4 separate regions of the Homo sapiens genome follow, and regions 2, 3 and 4 are each linked to region 1. The links are contacts of gene promoters, found by promoter capture Hi-C in human tissues and cell types (Jung and others, 2019). All regions are on one chromosome and are shown on one strand. Each heading gives the region's core, a stretch centred on a gene start or on the middle of the fragment in contact. The rest is flanking DNA. Distances are from core to core; before and after follow the strand shown. Region 1 holds the start of AMER2 (APC membrane recruitment protein 2). Region 2 overlaps LOC105370119 (a long non-coding RNA gene). Region 3 overlaps ATP8A2 (ATPase phospholipid transporting 8A2). Region 4 overlaps ATP8A2 (ATPase phospholipid transporting 8A2).

The links. The method cuts DNA at HindIII sites, captures the fragments that hold promoters and counts their contacts. A contact is called where the count stands out against the background at its distance.
Region 2: a contact is called between a fragment that was not itself captured here and the fragment with the promoter of AMER2 in region 1, in 1 of the 25 tissues and cell types used here (spleen).
Region 3: a fragment that was not itself captured here is called in contact with the fragment with the promoter of AMER2 in region 1 in 2 of the 25 tissues and cell types used here (dorsolateral prefrontal cortex and spleen).
Region 4: a contact is called between a fragment that was not itself captured here and the fragment with the promoter of AMER2 in region 1, in 2 of the 25 tissues and cell types used here (IMR-90 fibroblasts and spleen).

Annotation. Positions count from the first base shown.
Region 1 is chr13:25,170,145-25,175,500 of GRCh38, forward strand. It overlaps AMER2 (APC membrane recruitment protein 2), which reads right to left and starts at 2,144. Exons shown (of 1, transcript NM_152704.4): 1 at 1-2,144. The coding sequence starts at 1,475. It overlaps LINC00463 (long intergenic non-protein coding RNA 463), which reads right to left. Exons shown (of 4, transcript NR_120428.1): 3 at 3,769-3,943; 4 at 2,680-3,178. RefSeq lists a silencer at 634-723 and an enhancer at 3,003-4,202. The HindIII fragment of the contact is 4,196 bases long and covers 1-3,432 here.
Region 2 is chr13:25,031,452-25,036,776 of GRCh38, forward strand. LOC105370119 (a long non-coding RNA gene) reads right to left here. Exons shown (of 3, transcript XR_941760.4): 3 at 3,051-5,325. Among named protein-coding and RNA genes, the nearest start is that of PABPC3, 62 kb to the right of the region's middle. The HindIII fragment of the contact is 8,497 bases long and covers 1-5,325 here.
Region 3 is chr13:25,373,600-25,378,789 of GRCh38, forward strand. All of the region lies in intron 1 of ATP8A2 (ATPase phospholipid transporting 8A2), which reads left to right. Among named protein-coding and RNA genes, the nearest start is that of ATP8A2, 4.2 kb to the left of the region's middle. The HindIII fragment of the contact is 5,148 bases long and covers 339-5,190 here.
Region 4 is chr13:25,393,025-25,398,317 of GRCh38, forward strand. All of the region lies in intron 1 of ATP8A2 (ATPase phospholipid transporting 8A2), which reads left to right. Among named protein-coding and RNA genes, the nearest start is that of ATP8A2, 24 kb to the left of the region's middle. RefSeq lists enhancers at 4,279-4,880, 4,881-5,293. The HindIII fragment of the contact is 4,979 bases long and covers 1,193-5,293 here.

The sequences.
Region 1 (5,356 bases), core at 894-3,393:
CTCCTGCGCTTGACCGAGGACGCGTCCTTGGCCGCTTCCACACACCTGGTGTCTTTGGGGGTCTCGGGCACCACCTTGGTTTCCAGCGCAGCTGCCACCTTAGCCGCGCCCTCCTGGGGCTCGGGTCCCTGCTCCTCGGTCTGGGAGAGCATGTCCCAGAACTCCTGTAGATAGGTGTCGTCCACCTCGTCCGGGCTGGCCATCTCTTCCCCGCCTCCTTGGTAGGCCACCACGCCGGGGTTCTTTTTAGACAGAGCCGGCTTGCCTGGCCCGGGGACATGCTTGTCACAGCTGGGACCTGCCTCTTCCTCTTGGTCTGCAATAATATCTCCACAGCCTGTAAGAGAGTCAAAGCTTTTCAGTGAAGTCACGTCAGAAAACATCAAACAAATACGATCTGCCGACGGGTCTGAGGGTGGATCGACAGAGGCAGGGTCTGGGGCGGCGGGCGCCCGGCCGCTGCCGCCTTCGGAGTCGACAAGGGGGACCGTCTTTACGGGAACGGCCCCCGTCCTGGAAGCGTCCTCTGCCGTGCGGACCTCCCCGGGCCCCGGCTCGGCGCGCCGATGCCCCGCGGCGTCCTCTCCCCGGGCGCCGGTGTCGCCGGGGTGCGCGAGGCCCTCTGCCTCTCGGCAGCTCCGCGCTGGGGCGCGGTCGGCGGGGGCGGGCACCTCCTCTCCCCCTGCGGGCTCACCTGCTGGGTCTCGCGGGGCGTCCTGGCTGGGCTCCTCCGGCTCGCGCGCGGCTCTGGGCGTCTCCTCCTTGACGCACTCCAGGCTGGCGGTGAGCGAGCCGGGTAGGATCAAGCCGCCCCCGGGCGCGCGCCCCTCCGCGGCCTCCGCCTTGGCCCGCTTGTCTTTCCTGTGCCAGCGCATGCCGCTGAACAGCCCCCGCAGCCCCCGCTTTTGTTTGCCGCCGGCCTTGCTCGCGTCCACAGGCTCTCCCTTGCCGTTTTCCGAGCGCCCGTTCTTCTTCAGCAGCGAGAAGAAGCTGTGCGACTTGGCCACCGAGCTGCTGGCGAGGGAGCCCCCGCCGGGCCCTGCGGCTCTGGGGGGCCCCGGGTTCGGCCGCCCCCCGCCGCCCCCGCCGCTGTCGCCCCCGCCGCGCGGCTCCTCCTTCCTGCCGCTCTCCAGCACCAGCACCTCGGCAAGTCCGTCGTGGGTCCTGCTCCTCACCAGCCCCGTCGGACCCGAGCTTTTCCCGTCCCCTTTGTTTTTGACCCCAAAAATGCTGGGCATGGTGCCACCCGATTTCCTCTTCTTGAATAATTTGAAGGCAGCTTTATTAATCTTCCCCGACGGCGGCTCGGCGGCCGGCGTTTCGGCGGCACAGTCACAATGCAAGTCCATGTCTGCCGCGAGGGTCCCGGTCCCGGCCCCGGCCTCCGCCTTCCTCCTGCAGACCCCCACGGACGCGCCAGCTCCGCCGCGCTCGCTGACAGCCCCGCCGCCGCCGCGGCTCCGGCTCGTCTCCATGGAAACCGCGCGGGATAAGCCGCTTTCGTCAGCAGTGGGCTCGCGCCAGGCCACTGTCACCCGTATTCTAAATCAACCTGAGCCGCGCTCGCCGCCGCCGCTGCAAAAGAAACACACATAAAAGACCATCTTCCCTCCCGCAAGGGCTTATATAATACCCTAACCCACTTCCATCCGACTTGGCTCGGCGCTGCATGGCGTTTTTGTGGCAGGAGCAGGCAACACAGCCGCGAGCTGATTGCAGAAATTCGAGTCGTAATTATGGAATTCAAATTCCCTCAACTCTCACCCACCTTCGGATTCCTTCTCTAGACTCGCTCTTCACGGGAGCGCAACCATGGATCACGAAATGCCTCTAAAAACGACAACGCAATTCAACCCACCACAAAATGCTTGTTTTTCTTATCCTCTCTCCTAGACTCCCTGCATCTTCATGCCTTTCCCAAGCCCTTCATGTCTGTCCTTAGCATTGGTGCACTAAGCCCAGCAGGCAGGAAGCATGTCTGCCTACATCCATGTCTTGTCCAGAGCTGAGCACACGCTAGGTCCATGCTGTGTGGCTGTCATTGTGGTTATGGTTCTTGTGACAAAAGTACACGCCACCACTCAATCAGTCTATCAGCAGCCCAGCAATGCAAGCACAACAGCTCCCCGGGGTGGAGTTTGCCTGCACCTTTGGGACAACCATGACTTTTATCCCAGACTCCAGCCACCACGGGATGAAGTCACAGATGCTGCGGCACAGCCCACATCTGATAACAATAGACAAGCTGACCGAGACACACAGGCTGGGAATCTCAGACCCACTCCACAGGTGGGCCTTCGAGTCCGGGTTCTGCCCTCTCCTTTCCCACTCAGCAGGACAGTGGCATTATTCCTGTCACTGCGGTACCACTCCCCTCCCCCATACCACCAGGGCTGACTTGTAGTCCCCTTCCCCAATGTACAGAGCAGGAAAAGCTTGGCAGGGGTCCCTGTGTGTCCAGGGATCTCTGCAGACATTCCTACCTGCCTGGTCTGGGGAGAGGGAAAACCTTTTTTCTGGGAACAGCTCAGTCTAGGGATCTGTTCTGTGTTCTGATTTAAAAAGTGACTGCTAATATTCTAATCTTGACATCTGATTTCATAATCCCAGCTGAGTGCTTTTTAGCAAAAAGAAATTTGGAGAAGCATATACATATATAAATATAACATGTATATATAGTATATATTATTTAATCATTTGATTATTTATTAAATATCATTTAAGAATATATGTAATAATTACATATATACACAAACAGTAGTCTTTTCCCTACTCATTTTTTATATGCTCTTTGCATTAGGCCAATAAATCCCAATCCCCATCCACATAAGTTGGCGTTTTATAAATGACGTATGTTGGCCATTGCAGCTTCTGTTGTTATGAGATACAGCTGGTTAAAATTTAGACCTTGGAGTTCTTAGTTGTATTATTTCCTTTTTTTGTTTATTTTTTTCAAGAACACTGTTTTGTAAAACGAAGAAATCAATGAGTTCAGGTTCAGGAGAGGTTGTCACTTCCAGACTCTAATCCCATCAACTCTTTCTCACTATTGATGAGCATCTCTCCTGGTACAGGAAGTAAGGTGAGGCCAGAGAGAGGCTTTCCCGGATTCTAATTGACCGCTTGACATGATGAATCAGAGTCCTCAGTGCTTTCTGGGGAGACCACGTGTAAGGAACTGTAAAGAGAAACCCATTTGTTACGTCTTTACAACCTTTTGAAGAACAATAGAAAGTCTCTCAATTTTACACACATACACACACACACACACAAACACACACACACCCATACAGTTGCTTAGATTTGTGGGTTACTATGTAGCTCTGTCAGTTTGGAAGAGTTTGTGACTGGGATCAAGGAAAAGTAAGTCGCCTATTAAAAAATCTCCCTTTCTCCACTGGGAGAAAGTGGTCTGCTTATTCACCCATCAGGACAGGTCAAATGTGACTCTAATTTACATGAGAATCTTTGGGCCTCCTGGGAGAAATCTGATAGAGGACTTTGGGATGGATATCATTCTTTTGGGACATCAACACTCAAACAAAGAGAAAGAGACAAAGCTGTCTTCAGCCTGCGGAAGGTGCCCTCACTGTGAGTTACTGGCCCTGAGATAGAAGAAAGCAGGGACCCCTGGAACAATCTGAAGGCACTGGGCATGGGAGCTGTAGAGGCTGCGGTGTGAGTGAGGACCCTCCAGCGTCCTACTCAAAGTCCTTGTTACAGAGACAGTGGGAAAAACGAGGGTGAAGTCAGCTGAAAGGAACTTACCCCAAAAGCCAGACAGGTAAGGAGAGACTCTGTAGGGGAGAGAGATGAGGCGCAGGATGGTCCAATGGTTTGTTGGTTAGAGCCAGGTTATGAATCATCACAAAGACTGAGCCATACCTTATATTAAACTTCACAGTCAAGAGTGGAGAAAGCAAAATGGTGATTTTTTTTTTCCCTGAGAGACAGAACATGACAGTGAAGATAATTTTACCGTAAGCACTCCCATTTTTGTTTATAGTTTCTTCTTTCATTCTTTTCCCCCATCCTGCCCCAGCTTGGGAGTGAATAGAAAATTAGAGTAGAAAGGAATAGAGAACAGGACCGAGGGGAAACATTTCAGGGAAAAGCCATTCCAAAACAATAAGACGTATCACAAATGCAAACAGCAAGTGGATTTTGCTGGAAGACATGTGTGGGCTTTTCTTTGTTGGCACCAGGAAGTATTTGTCGTTTTGTTGAGGCTTTTTTCTCTAGGTAGTGAGCTTCTCTGGAGGATGGTACTCAAAAGGAAAAAAAAAAAACAAGAGAAACACAGGAAGAACCATTTGAGAACTTAACGTCGTCGTCATCATCATCATCATCATCATCATCATCACATCATCATCACATCATCATTTCCTTTTTTAGGGTGCCTTCAAAGCAGTCCAGCCCTTTGCCCAAAGCTTACTGGGTGGAATTTCTTTCTTTCTCTTTCTTTCTTCTCTTTTCTTTTTCTTTCTTTCCTTTTCTTTCCTTTCTTTCTCTTTCTTTCTCCTCTCCTCTCCTTTCCTTTCCTTCCTTTCCTTCCTTCCCTTCTTCTCTCTCCCTTCCCTCGCTCCCACCCTCCCTTCCTCCCTCCCTCCCTCCCTCCCTCCCTCCCTTCCCTTCCCTTTCCTTCCTTCCTTCCTTCCTTCCTTCCTTCCTTCCTTCCTTCCTTTCTTTCTTTCTTTCTTTCTTTCTTTCTTTCTTTCTTTCTTTCTTTCTTTCCTTCCTTCCTTCTTTCCTTCCTTCCTTCCTTCCTTCTTTCTTTTTTCCCAGAGTCTTGCTGTGTCACCCAGACTGGAGTGCAGTGGCGTGATCTCGGGGCTCACTGCAGCCTCTGCCTGCCAGGCTTAAGCAATTCTCCTGCTTCTGCCTCGCCTGTAACTGGGATCACAGGTGTACGCCAACAAACCCAGCTAATTTTTTTTTTTAAGTAGAAACGGGGTTTCACCATGTTTGCCAAGCTGGTTTCAAATTCCTGACCTCAAGTGATCTGCCCGTCCCGGCCTCCCGAAGTGCTGGGATTACAAGCATAAGCCACCGCACCCAGCACTGGGTGGAATTTTCTATCCTAGGTGAGCCACCGAGGAGCTTCCCTTTGAGCTGCTGTGTGGCTGCTGCTAAGGGACTTCTCATATGTCATAGCATTGCTGCTTAAGGAGGCTGCTAGCTTTACCTTAAACTTGCTGTGGGTCTTTAAAGGGATAATGGTTCATCAATACGGTTTGGAAATAATACCTGAGTTGAGACTACCACCTCCCATCTGCAGACCACTTGGCCAGCTCCTGACCTCACCCCAGGCTGAAATGTCTACCTCCCTGCTCATGTCCATTCCCACCTGGGATTA
Region 2 (5,325 bases), core at 1,996-4,495, 140 kb before region 1:
CACCACCACAAGCACCAGTAGGAAATCCTCCCTTGGTGCCTTTTCTGAAGGTGGTTCCAACAATTTATTCTACATCCAGAGAAGTGAGGCAACAAAGAGAATGCTCATGAGACCCATTGTTTCTATCATTCATCCTGCTAAGCTTGCTCAGCGAGATATGCTATTATATAATCTGTACCAGTTATCAATGTAGGCACTTCTTTCCCCGTTTTTGGTTTGATTTTTATTCCATTTCACTGTATCGGGTAGGCAGGAGAAGCTACTTTTATCATTTATGCCATAATCTGCAGAATGGTGAGAAGTCACAAACCTGATCAAATCCAAGCTAATGGAGGAATTGACACTACCTAGAAAACCTGAACTCAGAGGGGCTAAATTGTGTCACTTCACAGTACAGAACCTGTATGTGATTTTGGATTGTTACCCACTGGGGAGAAGGTGAGCACATTTGGAATTGCACAGAAGGTGGCTGGATTAGGATTAAGTAGGAGCATTTTTACAATTAAATGTGTGAGAAGATGTGATAGATATATATATATATATATATGTATATATATATTAGGTAGCCAAGAGGTTACTCCATCTTCACATAAGACATTAATACAATAGAGGAAAAATATGTCTGACCATCCTTCCCACAGCCACACCCCGGACTCATCTTCCGAAATCGCTGCGAATCTATGGGATCAGCGCCGGAGCCTCTCCCAGCAGATCGCAGATCGCTTGCTCAGTCAGCCCTCACCGCTGCTCCTTCAACTCCCGGACCTGCCGTGCTGACCCCTTTACTTTCTCCAACCCACTGGATCCTCTTTCTTCTAAGATCCCTCCCGTTTTTAAAAGCCTCTCCCTGCCCGAGCCCATGCGCCTTCTGGCAGCTGGTCTACCCTCTTCCAACCCTTAAGCAGGCCCGGAGCCTGGCTCCACTCCTTCCCCTCTGGCTGGCTGCTTCCTCAGCCAGGCTCATCTACACCACAGCAGTTCAGGCACAGGGCACAGGTGATGCCTGACTATGAAATCCAATGGCATGTTTTAGCCTTCAAATTACTGCAACATACTTAACCTTTCAGCAGCATTTGAGACTATACCTCACCCTCCTTCACAGCCTCTCCTCCTCCGAGCTCTGGGCTGCCGCCTCTGTGTTTCCCTGTTGCCTGCTCCCCTCGCCTCTCTCCTCTCTCCCCTCCTTGGCCACTGTTATTATGAACTCACACAGTTCTTCCAGGCTGGGCACGTGGCCTCTTCTGCTCTTACCCCTAACTCTCTCCAGGTGATGTCACCCAGGCTTACAGCTGCATCACCATCTGCTAGAGGTAGAATTGTGTCCCCCAAAAGACATTGAAGTCCTAGCCCGCAGTACCTATCCATGTGGCCCATTTAGAAAAAAGGTATCTGCAGAGGATGCAGGTAAGCTTTAGGTGATTGGGGTGGGGCATAATCCAGGGTCCTTACAGAGCAGGGAAATTTGGATGCAGAGGCAGAACCACACAGAGGAAGACGACATAATGACCCAGGGAGAAGGTGGCCACCTAGAAGCCCAGGAGTGCCCAAGGCTGCCGGAAGTGAGGATGGAGGCCTGGAGCAGGCCCCTCACAGCCCTAGGAGAAGCCTGATGACACCTCGCCCGCAGGCTTTCTGCCTCCGGAGCCATGAAGGAGAAGGCATCTGTTGCTCAAGCCGCTGTGCTGTGGTCCTTTGTTACAGCAACCACAGGAAAGGAACCCACCACCAAGTCCTGAATTCACACCAATAACCCAGGGCTCTCCCACAGGCTGCAGATCCACAATTGTAACTGGCTGCCTCACATCTTCAACCGGACATCACAAAAATACTACAAATCCAACATTTCCAAAACCTCATTCTGTTCTTTTGCACACTCTGCCACCAAGTTTGACAAAAATAAAACAAAAAGAATTTCAGCCGGGTGTGGTGGCTCATGCCTGTAATCCCAGCACTTTGGGAGGCTGAGGTGGGTGGATCACCTGAGGCCAGGAGTTCGAGACTAGCCTGGCCAACGTGGCGAAACCCCGTCTCTACTAAAAATACAAAAATTAGCTGGGCATGGTGGCGGGCACCTGTAATTCCAGCTACTTGAGAGGCTGAGGCAGGAGAATCGCTTGAACCCAGCAGACGGAGGATGCAGTGAGCCGAGATCACACCATTGCACTCCAGCCTGGGTGACAAGAGCGAAACTCCATCTGAAAAAAAAAAAAAAAAAAGAATTTCAGAGTTTTCTGTCTCAAGAAGTCATTTTCCTACATACTGGAAACAGGGTGGTCATTCCTAAAACCTCTGAGTCTGTCCCCACTACCGCCTAACTTCCTAGCCAAATCCAAGCCTTGAGAAACTCCGCTGGAACTGCCTGCTATTTCCCAACTGTGCCGACAACTTCATGGGTAAAAGATGCCATTGTGGCCGGGCGCGGTGGCTCATGCCTGTAATCGCAGCACTTTGGGAAGCCAAGGCAGGCGGATCACGAGGTCAGGAGATCGAGACCATCCTGGCCAACACGGTGAAACCCCGTCTCTACTAAAAATACAAAAAATTAGCCGGGCGTGGTGGCGGGCGCCTGTAGTCCCAGCTACTCGGGAGGCTGAGGCAGGAGAATGGTGTGAACCCAGGAGGCGGAGCTTGCAGTGAGCCGAGATTGCGCCACTGCATTCCAGCCTGGGCGACAGAGCCAGACTCCGTCTCAAAAAAAGAAAAAAAAAAAAAGATGCCATTGCTTCCTGCTTAGCAGAGAGGGGCCAGGAGGACCATTGAGGAGGTGGGGCAGCAGCAGGACCCCCAGAACCGAAGCCTGTGTCTCTGCTGTCTCATCCCTTCATTCTTCCCGGCTCGCCACAGCTCAGCTACCTGGGCTTTCACTTCCTAAACACAAAACCTCTTCCTTCCCCAGCAGGGCTTCTGCATGTCCAGCCACCTCACCTAGAATCCTCCTGGGGCCTCCTCTCCACCACTGCCCCCTGGTTTCTGTGGCTAGGTGGTTTTCGGGTAAAAGTTAATATTGTTTTTTGGTTTTTTTTTTCTTTTGGATTCAGGAGCTACGTGAGTGGTTTGTTACAAGGATTTATTGCATGACAGTGAGGTTTGGGCTTCAACTGATCCCATCACCCAGATAGTGAACACAGTGCCCAATAGGTAAGTTTTCAACCCTCTCCCTTCCTCCTGCCTTTTGGAATCCCCAGTGTCTATTTTCCCATCTTTATGTCCCTGTGCACCCAATGCTTGCCTCCCACTTATAAGTGAAAACATGTGGTATTTGGATTTCTATTTTTGCATTAATTCACTTAGGGTAATTGGCGTGGCTAGGTTTTTTGTACAATTCAGTTCTCAGCTTAAATGTCACATTCCAGAACATGCTTCCTAGCCCATGCTGTCTAGAGGGAAGCCCGTCATAGTCCCTGAAGAAGCAGTCTTGAAAGACACAATCCCAGCTCTTAAAATTCTGAAAGATCAAAAATCCCTAAAATCCAAAATCCTGAAAATATAATTCTGGAAAAAATAATTTTAAAAATTCCTGAAGATATTTACTTACATTTTAAGGGGAGTGGGTGTGGGCACAGTGGCTCACTCCTGTAATCCCAGCACTTTGGGAGGCTGAGGCAGGTGGATCACCTGAGGTCAGGAGTTCAAGACCAGCCTGGCCAACATGGTGAAACTCCATCTTTACTAAAAATACAAAAATTAGCCCGGCCTGGTGGTGCATGCCTGTAATCCCAGCTATTCGGGAGGCTGAGGCAGGATAATCGCTTGAATCCGGGAGGCGGAGTTTGCAGTGAGCCCAAATCACACCACTACATTCCAGCCTTGGCAACAACATGAGACTGCATCTCAAAAAAAAAGGGAGGGGGGGATTTATTTGAGAAACATATAAAAACACAACAGAACACTTCATAGGCCGCTTTACACAATAAAAGAAGCAATACTAGCGTACATGTTTTTGCAAGAATAAATACTCAGGTATACGACTATACCTGGCACAGATATAGCATTTATGAGCAGATAAACTGTATTCCTAAAGAAGTAGGTCAAAAGGAAAATGTGTAAACACATATCACTATGATTGGTAATTGTGTGCAACCAGCTTTGTATATGTGCTCATCTGAAATACTGTGATAAAAAACCGAAGTCTTTTGACAAGATTGATCAAAAACCACAATGGATTACCACTACATATGCAGTCACCCAAAGAGCTGAGATCTCAAAAAATGTTGTCTTTTACAAATGCAGGTGTACAAAAAGGACATCACTGAGGAGGTTTCAATGTTTTCATGTACATACACAATGTTTATACACAAAATCAACATTGAGATAATGAACTTTCATGGAGTCACATTTGCAAAAAAATGCATGAAACAAATTAGGACTCTCTAAACGTCTCTGCACAACCTATACGTCAAGTTTTGGAAATGATGCAACGATGAAATATATAGCATAGTGAATTGTTTTGCTATTTAAAATAGTGAAAAAAATAGAAGAAAAGGAAAAAAAACCCTATCCTGTGATTGTGATTTTCAGAATTTTAGACTTTAGGGATTTATACTTTAGGATCTTTGATCTTTTGGGATTTTAGCATTCAGGATTATGGTATTTGGAATTTTGTCTTATTTTCAATAAAAATGCAAAAGTAATTCAATGGAAAAGTATCATTTTTTCACCAAATGGTGCTGGAACAGATGGATGTTCATGTGCCAGAAAATGAACCTGAATCCATATCTTAGGCCCTATATGAAAATTAACTGAAATTGATCGTAGACCTAAATGTAAAACATAGATATATAAGACTTCTGTAAGAACACATGGAAAAAAAATATTGCACTCTCGGGTTAGGCAAAGATTTCATACATGTAACAACAAAAAGCACAATCCATAAAAGAAAACAATTGGTAAACTAGATTTCATCAAAATTAAAAACTTCTGTTTTTTGAAGGGCACTATTAAGAAAATTAAAAGGTGGGGAGAAAACCACTACACACCTTTAGAATGGCTGAAACTCTTTAAGGTGATGATAACAAGTGCTGATGATAACAAGTGCTGTTGAGAATGCAGAGTTACTGGAACACTCATTCATTGCTGGTGGGAAAGTGAAATGGTGCAAAGACTATGGAAAACAGTTTGGTAGTTTTTTAAAAAGTTAAAAATACCTACCACGTGACCCAGTCATTTGTACGTAGATATTACCCCAGGAGAAAAGAGCACATTTGTCCACACAAAGTCCTGTACCTGTTATTTAGGCAGTAAACTTATATTGCATCAAGTCACAGAAATGCTGGGGTCTGGACAAGGCGTGGTAATGGGGACTCAGGATGGTGGACACATGGAGGG
Region 3 (5,190 bases), core at 1,663-4,162, 200 kb after region 1:
TTGGATGTGGGGCTTCAGTACAAGAAAAGAATCAAAGATGCCCCCAAGGGTTTTGGTCTGAGACACCGGAAGAATGCACCCCTTGCTGAGATGGGGAAACTGCGGAGGACCAGGGTTCTCTTTTGCGGTAAGGGAGGGTGTGAAGAATTTGGTCTGAAATGCCTACCATAGATCCAAGAGGAGATGATTAGTAGAGAGCTGGATTTATGAGTCTGGGGCTCCGGGGAGTGTGCAAGGCCAGACATAGAGATTCAAGAGTCGTCGGCAGGACCGGCTCCAAGAGTGTATGCCCTGCAGCTGCTCAGAGTCTGGCTCTTACAAGAGTCAGCACTTGCTTGGATGTTCTGCCCAGTGTTGCTGTCTTGAAAGTCTTAATTTTTGAACAAGGGGCCCACCTTTTCATTTTACACGGGCCCCTAAGAATTATGTGATCAGCTGTCAATGTGTACAGATGTGACTTAGAAAAGAGGGGTCCTTGGATAGAGTCCTGGGCACTCTAACATTTTGAGGTTAGGGAGATGAGGGTCAACAGAAGGGGCCTGAGAGGATGGCCAGGGAGGTCCCCGGAAACCCGGAGGGAGTGCTCTGAAACTCAGTGTGGAGATGTTCAGGAAGGGGTGGGGTGTACCTGTGCCCAGTGCTGCTGAGCTCAATAAAGATGAGGCTGGAGAACTGTCATGTAAGTGGAGGTCACTGGTGATCTTGAAAAGAGCTGTTAACATATCATTGTGGGGAAGAACGCCTAATAGAGCAGGTGTAAGAGTAACAGGACAGGAACTGGAAACAGCAAGTCCGGAAAACTCTTTTGAGTGAATATTGCAGAAAAGGCAGGGGGAGAAGCAGATCGAGTGGTAGCTGGAGGAAAATGTGAGTTCAAGAGAGGTCGCTTTGTTTTGAGACTGTTCTACAGTCTGACGGCATGAACATCAACGCAGGAAGCTTTTAGGGAGCAGGGGGGAAGGCAGTGATCTGAGAGTAACCGTGAGAAGCAGGGTCCTCCTGGCAGAGCAGTTAAGGCAAGAAGTTTCAGGAATAGTCAGAGGGGTCGGGTTGTGAGGGATCTTGCTGATGATAGGCTGAAAGTTCCAGGAGACAGAGTGGAGGCTCTGAGATGGGGCCTGTTTAGGGTATTTGCATAATGTATGGAGAAGAAAGAGGATCTGCATAGTGTGGGCTCCTGGGGACACTGATGGAAACAGGGGCAGAGGGCCTGACAATCGTGTACTCCCATAAAAATACTAAACAAAGATGTGTGATTTTTAGTGAAGTCTGCTACTTCTCATTATTAAAAAATAAACTAATGATGAAAGGATTGCAGATCACAGTCAGCTTCAAGAGTATATGCTGAGCTGTATACTATTTTTAAAAATAATTCTGGAATATTTTCTTGTCTGAGCCATCTTTGACTCTTATCTTGTTCTGCATATTCAATTGCACTTTGATCAGTTTTAGCTTTCCCCAAATATCTACTTGGTGCCAGTGTGTCTCATTTTACCAAATGATGAAAATCCAAAGATTTGTGACCATGGGGATCCTCTTGCCCGTATAGTGCTTACAGTCTGCTCAGGGTGGAGCCCCTTAGAATGGAAACAAAGTCAGTGACAAATATATATCAGTGCCTTCTATGTGCCCGGCATGGTTCTAGGTGCTAGAGACAGAGCAGGGAACACAGCAGTGTGTCTCACAGAGCTTATGGTCTAGGCAGTGACTACAGTGCACGTGGGAAGAGCTCTCAACTCTCTTCTCTCACCTTGACCCAGATGAGTAAGGAAATTAAGGGTGTACATGTGAATATGGGTGTTGGGGGTTGTGGGAGGGGAGGAGTGGGGACAGAAAGGAAGGAAGTTGTTTTCTATGGACGACAGCATCAGTGCTGTCTATGGCAGAAGCTCTTCCCTATCTTACCGCATTTCTGGACTTAGTGAAAGAACGGGCAGGCAGGAAGTGCACAGACCAAGTGCAGAACCCAGAGGACTACAAATATTCTTTTTTTTTTTTTATTTTGAGCCTGTCGTCAGGCTGGAGTGCAGTGGTGTGATCTCGGCTCACTGCAACCTCCGCCTCCCGGGTTCAAGCAATTCTGCTGCCTCAGCCTCCCAAGTAGCTGGGATTATAGGCTCCCACCACCACACTCAGCTAATTTTTGTATTTTTAGTAGATACGGGGTTTCACCATGTTGGCCAGGATTGTCTCGATCTCTTAACCTCGTGATCCACCCACCTCGACCTCCCTAAGTGCTGGGATTACAGGCGTGAGCCACCGTTTGGACCAGGACTACAAACCTTCTAGAAACTGCCCCTGGAGCCCTCCTCTAAATTCCACACCCAACTCACCCTGCCCTCTGCTGGTCATCAAAGGTATTTTTTAATGTGTGTTTTCTGTTTTTGCCAGAACAACCTGCCCCAAGTTTCAAGGAGGAGAATCAGGGCAGCTGAAAATACAAGCCGTGCTAATGTGAGAATGTAATAGCTGGAGGATATCTCAGAGATGGTCTGATCCCTTCACTTTACAAATGAAAAAAAAATTCGGAGAAATTCCTTACTTGCTGCTTAATTTCTGTCAGGACAAGCTAATTAGCAAGTCCAGTGTGGTTCTTATCATTGCCCACCTGCCTAGTTCAATATCAGATCTAAATGCAACAGAATACGCTCATTGATTCTATATGGTTTTCTCTTCCTTGATAAGAAATAAAGATAATAATCTAATTTCTCCTGCTTCCATTTCCTATACTACCCTTTGTGTGCTCAGTAATTACAGATTTTACTGAACTCTGTCATGGGCAGTTTTTGGACTTGGTCTAATGGTCTAGATTCTGTTTGGAAGTTTCTTAAGGGCAGTATATCTAGGGGTTAAAACCCCAGAATTTAGGGTTAAAGAGAATTGAATTCAGGTTTTAACACTGTCATTTCTACCTATATGGCATTCAAAAGATTCATTTACCTCTGTTACAGATAAAGATAAAAATAAGAATTTGCACTTCATGGGTGGTTGGTAGTGGTCTGTGGGTATGTGCATATAAGTGCATGCACTAACTGACACATTATCAAGATGATATCGACAACATGTTAGATTTCTCCCATGCTGCCCATCGTCATCTAAGGCAAAGTCCTCCAGCTAGGTATTTATCCTATGTAATAGAAGAATTGGCAAAACTTTTGTTATTATTTTCCTTTCTAAATCTAATGATGGAGGCCTAACTAGGAGAGGACCTCATAGTCATCACAGGAGAATTTAAATGTTCTTTTACTGTCATTATCCAGGTGTAAATGATTGCAGAAATAAGCGCTTACTCACCAGGAGCTCTGATTCTGGACAGAGTGTTCATCCTGTAGTGGCTCTGAAGGTCATCACCTTCTGTTGAAAGAAGTCCTGACTACAAGGCCGTCTTCTACCCCACAGGTGGCCAATAAGCACCTCTGCGGACGCCTTCCGTTGTCCAGTAATTGATTTTACATTTACAACGGATGTGTTATCTTAAACCCTCCTCAGAGGTGCCAGCTAGACAAATGGAATATTTTACAGTTATTTTCGAAAAAGTTTTTAAGCATTTATGAGACGAAGTGTATACAGTGCCTCTAAAGAAGGGTCTCTATTCTTCCTCCTTGGATCTTTACATTTACTAAATATAACTTCTGGTCAATACCACACTGGATACAAGATGTTATTTACATCCACTTAGGCTGGGAAAAGTGCTCAGCACAAATGTTAACAACCATTAAGAAGGGCTAAAAATAAAAGTGATCTCACTTCCATGCCTTGGGAGTTTCTCCCCATCATTATCAAGGGCAAACACAGAAACAGGACCTACTCCAGGACAGGAGAGAGCCCTTCCAGGAATAGAGTAAGGAGTGGGGACCTGTCACACCCCAGTGGCTGCCTGGGTCTGCCTGCATAGATCTGTCGTAAAAGTACCTGGATGGCTGGGCACAGTGGCTCATGTCTGCAATCCCAGTACTTTGGGAGGCCGAGACGGGTGGATCATATGAGGTCAGGAGTTCAAGACCAGCCTGGCCAACATAGTGAAACCCTAAAAGTACAAAAATTAGCCAAGTGGTAATGGTGCGTGCCTGTAATCCCTGTAACTCGGCAGGCTGAGGCAGGAGAATGACTTGAGTCTGTGAGGTGGAGGTTGTGGTGAGCCAAGATTGCACCATTGCACTCCAGTCTGGGCAACAGGGTGAGACTCTCTCTCTAACAAAACAAAACAAAGCAAAACAAAACAAAACAGTACTTGAATGGCCAAGCCTGTTGGCTCACGTGTGTAATCTCAGCACTTTGGGAGGCCCAGGTGGGAGGTTCACTTGAGGCCAGGAGTTCGAGACCAGCCTGTACAACATAGTGAGACCCCATCTCTACAAAAAAATTATAAATAGCCAGGCATTGTGGCACATGCCTGTAGTCCCAGCTACTTGAGAGGCTGAGGCAGAAGGATTGCTTGAGCCCAGGAATTTGAGGCTGCAATGAGCTACTGCACCAGTGCATTCCAGCCTGGACAACAGAGCGAGACCCTTCCTCTAAAGAAAAAAAAAAAGAGCACATGAATGATGCTGGTCACTCCCCAGCTGTGGTGGGGGAGGGTTACTGGGCCCAATATTACCATAGATACATGTGTGCTTGTTTATGTGAATAGGTCTCTTGCTCTGACGGTTCATTTCTTCCCTCCCTTACTGCCCCTGTAAAGCTTATCATATAATATTTCATGCTAAAAAGTGATCTAATCCTCATTAACTCTGTTTTTTTTCCAGAGTTTTGCATTTTTTTTTTTGTAATCATTAGTTTATAAATACTGCCCATTTTGCTTTCCATCACAATCATTCCCAGGTGAGTGTAGAAAAAGCTGCATTCAGGAATATGGTAAAATATTGCAGGAAGATTTATGCCATTTTGATTGGTTTGTTTCAGGTTGCCTGAATTTTTAATACCCCTTTCTTGTCACAGAGAAGAGAACTTTGTTATTTTTGGCTTTCACTGGAGTTCTCACTTCAGAGTTGGTTAGTATGAGTTTCTGCTTTCCAAGCTGACATGTTTTTTTCTTTTTAGCATCTGTTCCATATACAGGGTGAATAGCTACAGGGTTCCAAAACTGCGAGTGAAGCACCTCCTCCACATATTCCTCACTAGCCTGCATAACTGACAGCACTTGGCTGTCTCCGGCCCTGCTGTCCTAGCTACTCTGCAGCTCTGCCCACC
Region 4 (5,293 bases), core at 2,432-4,931, 220 kb after region 1:
GATAAAGATTGATAAGCTTTTCTTTCCCTGAGCCATATTGACACTTTATCTGTACCACTTTTTAGTTCATGGATACTTTTTTTTAGCCTTCTCAAATTTATTTACATACTTTTTTTTTTTTTTAAGACAGAGGCTTGCTCTGTCACCCAGGCTGGAGTACAGTGGCATGATCATAACTCACTGCAGCCTCAACTTCCTAAGCTCAAAAAATCCTCTTGCTTCAGTCTCCTGAGTATCTGGGGCTACAGGCGCGTGCCACCATGCTTGGCTAATTATCTTTTATTTTTTGTAGTGATGGGATCTCACTATGTTGCCCAGGCTAATTTCAAACTCCTGGCTAAGTACTGGGATTACCAGTGTGAGCCACCTCACCCAACCTATTTACATACTTTTTTTATTGTTGTTTTTTGAGACAGGGTCTCACTCTGTCACCCAGGCTGGAGTGCAGTGGTGCAATCTCAGCTCACTGCAACCTCTGCCTCCTGGGTTCAAGTGACTCTCCTGCCTCAGCCTCCAGAGTAGCTGGGATTACAGGTATGTACCACCATGCCCAGCTAACTTTTGTATTTTTAGTAGAGATGGGGTTTCACCATGTTGGCCAGGCTGGTCTTGAACTCCTGACCTCAGGTGATCTGCCTGCCTCGGCCTCCTAAAGTGCTGGGATTACAGGCATGAGCCACTGTGCCCAGCCCCTATTTATATACTTTTTGACTCCTCTATATAACTTACAGCATCTTAGGAATCTGAGGTTCATTTTATGTTGTGCATGCCTTGACTATAATACATGCTCAGTACACATTTATTGACAATCTGACATAAGACAGTGGGGTTAGCTGGGAAGGGTCCAGAGTTCTGCATCAGGTAGACTGAGGTTGAATCTTGAACATTGATCATGGGATCTTGGGAAAACTATGAAACTTATCCAAGACTCAGTGTAGTAACCTATAAAACAGGAATATTATCTTAGGATCAATGAGAGGAACTGCAAACTGCCTAGCTTTTGATAGTTATTCTATAAGTACTGTTTTATTGTCCTGGTTGTTTTAAAAAAATGAAGTGAATGATCACTGTAACTGTCATCACCTTGTAAGTGCATCTTTAAAGCAGGTTGTAAAGATTCTGATGGATGGTTTCAGTATTTTAGGTGGAGTTTACAGCCTGTAGATGAGCTTGGCTTGTTCTCTATAGTGTGATTAGACATGTCTGCCTGTTCTGGCCATTGGTAGGCTGAGAGTCTAGTGGAAGGAGAGCTCATTACTGGCTAGCAGTGATGCAGGGAAGTTGGATTCAGGCAGGCATCAACAAAGATGTTGCTCAGGATAATTCATTAAGACATAAACTTGCTTTGTGTAATTTTTGGTATCTGTGTTTTACTTAACAATAGAAAACAAAATAAAAGAAGCAAACTGAAAACCAAGACAAAATAAAACTCCAAGTCTAACTAGGATGTGGCAGGCTGAATCCAGGCTGTGCCCCCGAGCCTGAGGGGCAACCAACCAGAAGAGGAAGATAAAGACAAAGCAGGAGGCGGCAGAGACCAATTGCTGGCCGGATTGATGACATAGGTCAGATCTAGGCTTGCCAGGCCTGTGAAGGGGACCATAATATGTCACCCTGAAATATGCCTTTTGGACTAAGGGTTATTTTGAGCTGAAGGCAATTAAGAAACATCAGATGCAGAAAGGAAAAAAAAAGGCTTACTGTCCTTCCCCTATCTGGCTAAAAACAGAACATAAATTTCCATTTGTAAAAGTGTCTCCCTCTCCCATACCAGAAAAAGCACAATAACTCTTCGTCACCTGAGATGACTAGAGTCTTATCAGCCCAGAGCAGTGAGTGGAGCCTGCATGACAAGCCTTACTAAAGCAGCCTTATCTTCCATTAATTTCCCCACATATTTACCCTCCCACAATTTATTGCCCTTAGAAGCCTTCCCTTTTCCTTTGTCTTGTCACAGCTTCACAATTTATCATTCTTTGTTGAAGTAGTATGTAAGCTCTCTAGCCTATGTACTTCTTTGGGTCTCTCTCTATATACATACAAAGACTCTATGTCTTCCTAAAACTATGATGTCAAATAAAATTTGCATGTCTTTTCTTCTCTTCATTTGTCTTTTTTCAGTTTGATTAGCAGGGCCCTCGCTCCTGAACCTAGGATGGTAGAGGGGCAGGGTTTTCCACCCACTATTGGCATTCTTCTGGTCATCCCTCAGTAGGCTGCTGGTCCATCTGCAATGTGTCCACTTAGTTACCAAAGCCAGAGATCTTGTCTTGGGCCTGAGGGGGCTTCTGTCTTTTTTAAAAATGCCTTGAGACTCTGCTTGTCATCCTCACCTTCAGTTCTGTGGCTTGTAGGGGTCAAGGGAAAGCTTTCCCTTCGCCCTCTGAAAGTTTGCTGAAAAAATCTACTCAAAAAAGGCAGATTACTTGGAGAAAAGGCATACACATTTATTAACGTATACATGGGAGCCTTCAGAATAAAGACCAAAAGATAAAGGAAAATTGTCCATTTTTATGCTTAGGTTTAACAAAGTATGGAGAGCCAGGAAGAGAGATGATTGGACAGAAAAGGTGCAATCATAGCTCACTGCAGCCTTGAACTCCTGGGCTCAAACGATCCTCCCAGCTCAGTCTATTGAGTATCTAGAACTACAGGCATGTGCCACCATGCTTGGCTAATTTTTGAATTTTTTTGTAGAGATGGGGTCTTGCTATGTTGCTCAGGGGTGTCTCAAACCCCTGGCCTCAAGTGATCGCCCTGCCTCAGTCTTCAAAAGTGCTAGAATTACAGGCACGAGCCACTGTGTCTGGCTGATCCAATTTTTCTTTCTTTTTTTTTTTGACGGAGTCTCACTCTGTCCCCAGGCTGGAGTGCAGTGGCGCAATCTCAGCTCACTGCTACCTCCGTCTCCTGGGTTCAAGAGCTTTCCCTACCTCAGCTTCCTGAGTAGCTGGGACTACAGGTGTGCATCACCATGCCCAGCTAATTTTTTTATTTTTAGTAAAGAGGGGGTTTCACCATGTTGGCCAGGATGGTCTTGATCTCCTGACCTCGTGGTCTGCCCGCCTTGGCCTCCCAAAGTGCTGAGATTACAGGTGTGAGCCACCACGCCCAGCCCTGATCCAATGTTAATAGACTGAGTGGGGAAACCCAGCAAGGCCTGCCTGTCTGGATTCTTCTCGTTCTCTTGGAGCAGCCTATCTTCCTTCTTGGTGTGGAGTGGGATCCTCTCTGCAATGAGGAACTTAGGGCCTACAGTCAAACAAGGTAGGTCAGATAACTTTCTTATGGCCAGTTTTTACACAGAAAGAGGAAAAGTTAGAGTGCTTTTTTTAGGTTTTATGGCTGGCCTTGGGGAAAAGGGGTTCTAGTTTCTATGACCTACCTTGAGGAAGAGGGATTCTAGTTTTTATGGCTAGCCTGGGGGATGATGGGACTGAGAGACAATAGGGCAAAAGAAGGTCAGAGAGAAACTTCTGCTTCTGAGGCCTTGATTTTAGGGTATTGTTTTCTCAGTCCCAGCCGGCTTCTGTCCTGGCTCTTACCTCTAGGAACATGGCCTAATTTGCCCTTGACCCCGGGTAGCCTGCAATCATGAGGGTGCTCTTGGGTGCATTACTATCTTCATGTTCCCAATCTTTGCTCTCACGAACTCTATTTTGGGGCTGGAAATTTCATGTTTTTAACACTGACTCTTAGTTGTGGGCGAGCGCCTGCCACTAGCAAGTATGCATTTCCTTTCCTTTCTACTTTCAGGCTTTTCAGACACATCTATTGCGGGGAGGACTCTAAAAACTTTGCCAATATATGCAATGTTATCAATCCACTGGCATGACTGTGGTGAGACAGAACACTCACACAGCAAGCTTTCAGCAAAGCAGCTTTATTACTCACAGATAGGCAGCAAGAGATGGTAGAAGCCTGGGCCCATGGCGGACCAGTCCCTCAGGGTTCAGGAAAGCTGCCCAAGGCGGATGGAGTCTTGTCTTTGACACCAAAGGCGTGCCCCTTGGTGGGGGTGGGGGTGGCTGTTTTCGCTGAGTTAAATAAAGCCTTGCTGGACATCCTGTTCTAGGAAGACGGGAACAGAGCCTAGGCTGTTCTGGTCAGTGCCTCCTTATCTCAGGTTGTCGCATTCCCAGCACATTCTCCAGTTGTCCTTAGGAACTACCAGTGAGGAGGGGAAGAGCTGGGTCTCCAAGGCCATGCAGACAGTTGTCCTATAGCACCTTAGAAAAAGGCTTGTCTCCTTCTTATAGGACCTGGTGAAAGTCCACATGAATTATCAAAACCATCAATATACTGATATTTTTCTGTCAAGTCATAAAACACCAGCCTCTATGAACAAGTGGTTGAAATCCTGTGACGCTCAGGTCCCTTTCAGCCTGCCTACTCTGCTGCTGCTGGCCCATGACCACAACTTCCTAATAAGGCGTGGAGGGGTCCTCTCTGCTCCTCACCCACCTTGACTCAGTGCACAGTCACACTCCAGGACGGGCTGCTTGCAATATGGGTCCATTTCTGGGGACCCATTTTTCTCTTCACTGGGAAACCCTGAGAATTTTCCTTTACTATTGGTCATTATGCTTTGTTGAGGAAAAAAGCCAGACTCTGTAAAATATTTGAAAAGGTTTATTCTGAGCCAAATGTGAGGATCATGACCTGTGACAGCCTCATCAGGTCCTGAGAACATGTGCCCAAGGTGGCTGGGTTACAGCTTGATTTTATGCATTTTGGGGAGCTAGAAGTTATAGGCAATGGCATAAACCAATACATATAAGGTGTACATTGGTTTGGCCAAGAAAACTGTGACATCTCAAAGTGGGGGCTTCCAAGTCATAGGTGGATTCAAAGATTTCCTGATTGACAATTGGTTGAAAGAGTTCAGCTTCACCTGAATTGTTGAAGGCAGCGGGAAGAAATGCATGGGTTAAGATAAGGGGGATTGTGGAAGCCAAGGTCCTGTTATGTAGATGAAGCCTCCAGGTAGCAGCCTTAGGGAGAATAGATGGTAAATGTCTCTTATCAGAACTTAAAAGGTGTCAGACTCTTAGTTAATCTCTTGGATCAGGAAAAGACCTGGAAATGGAAGGAGATTCCTTACAGAATGTAAATTTTCCCCACATGAGATGGCTTTGCAGGGCCATTCCAAAATATGTCAAAAAAATATATTTTGGGGTAAATACTTTGATTACCTTTAGAGCCTGTTATCTGTCATGTGATGCTACACCAGAGCAGACTGGAGTTGGGGTCTTATTGCTAAAAAGAGTCTATTTTGTCAGTCTTTGGATCT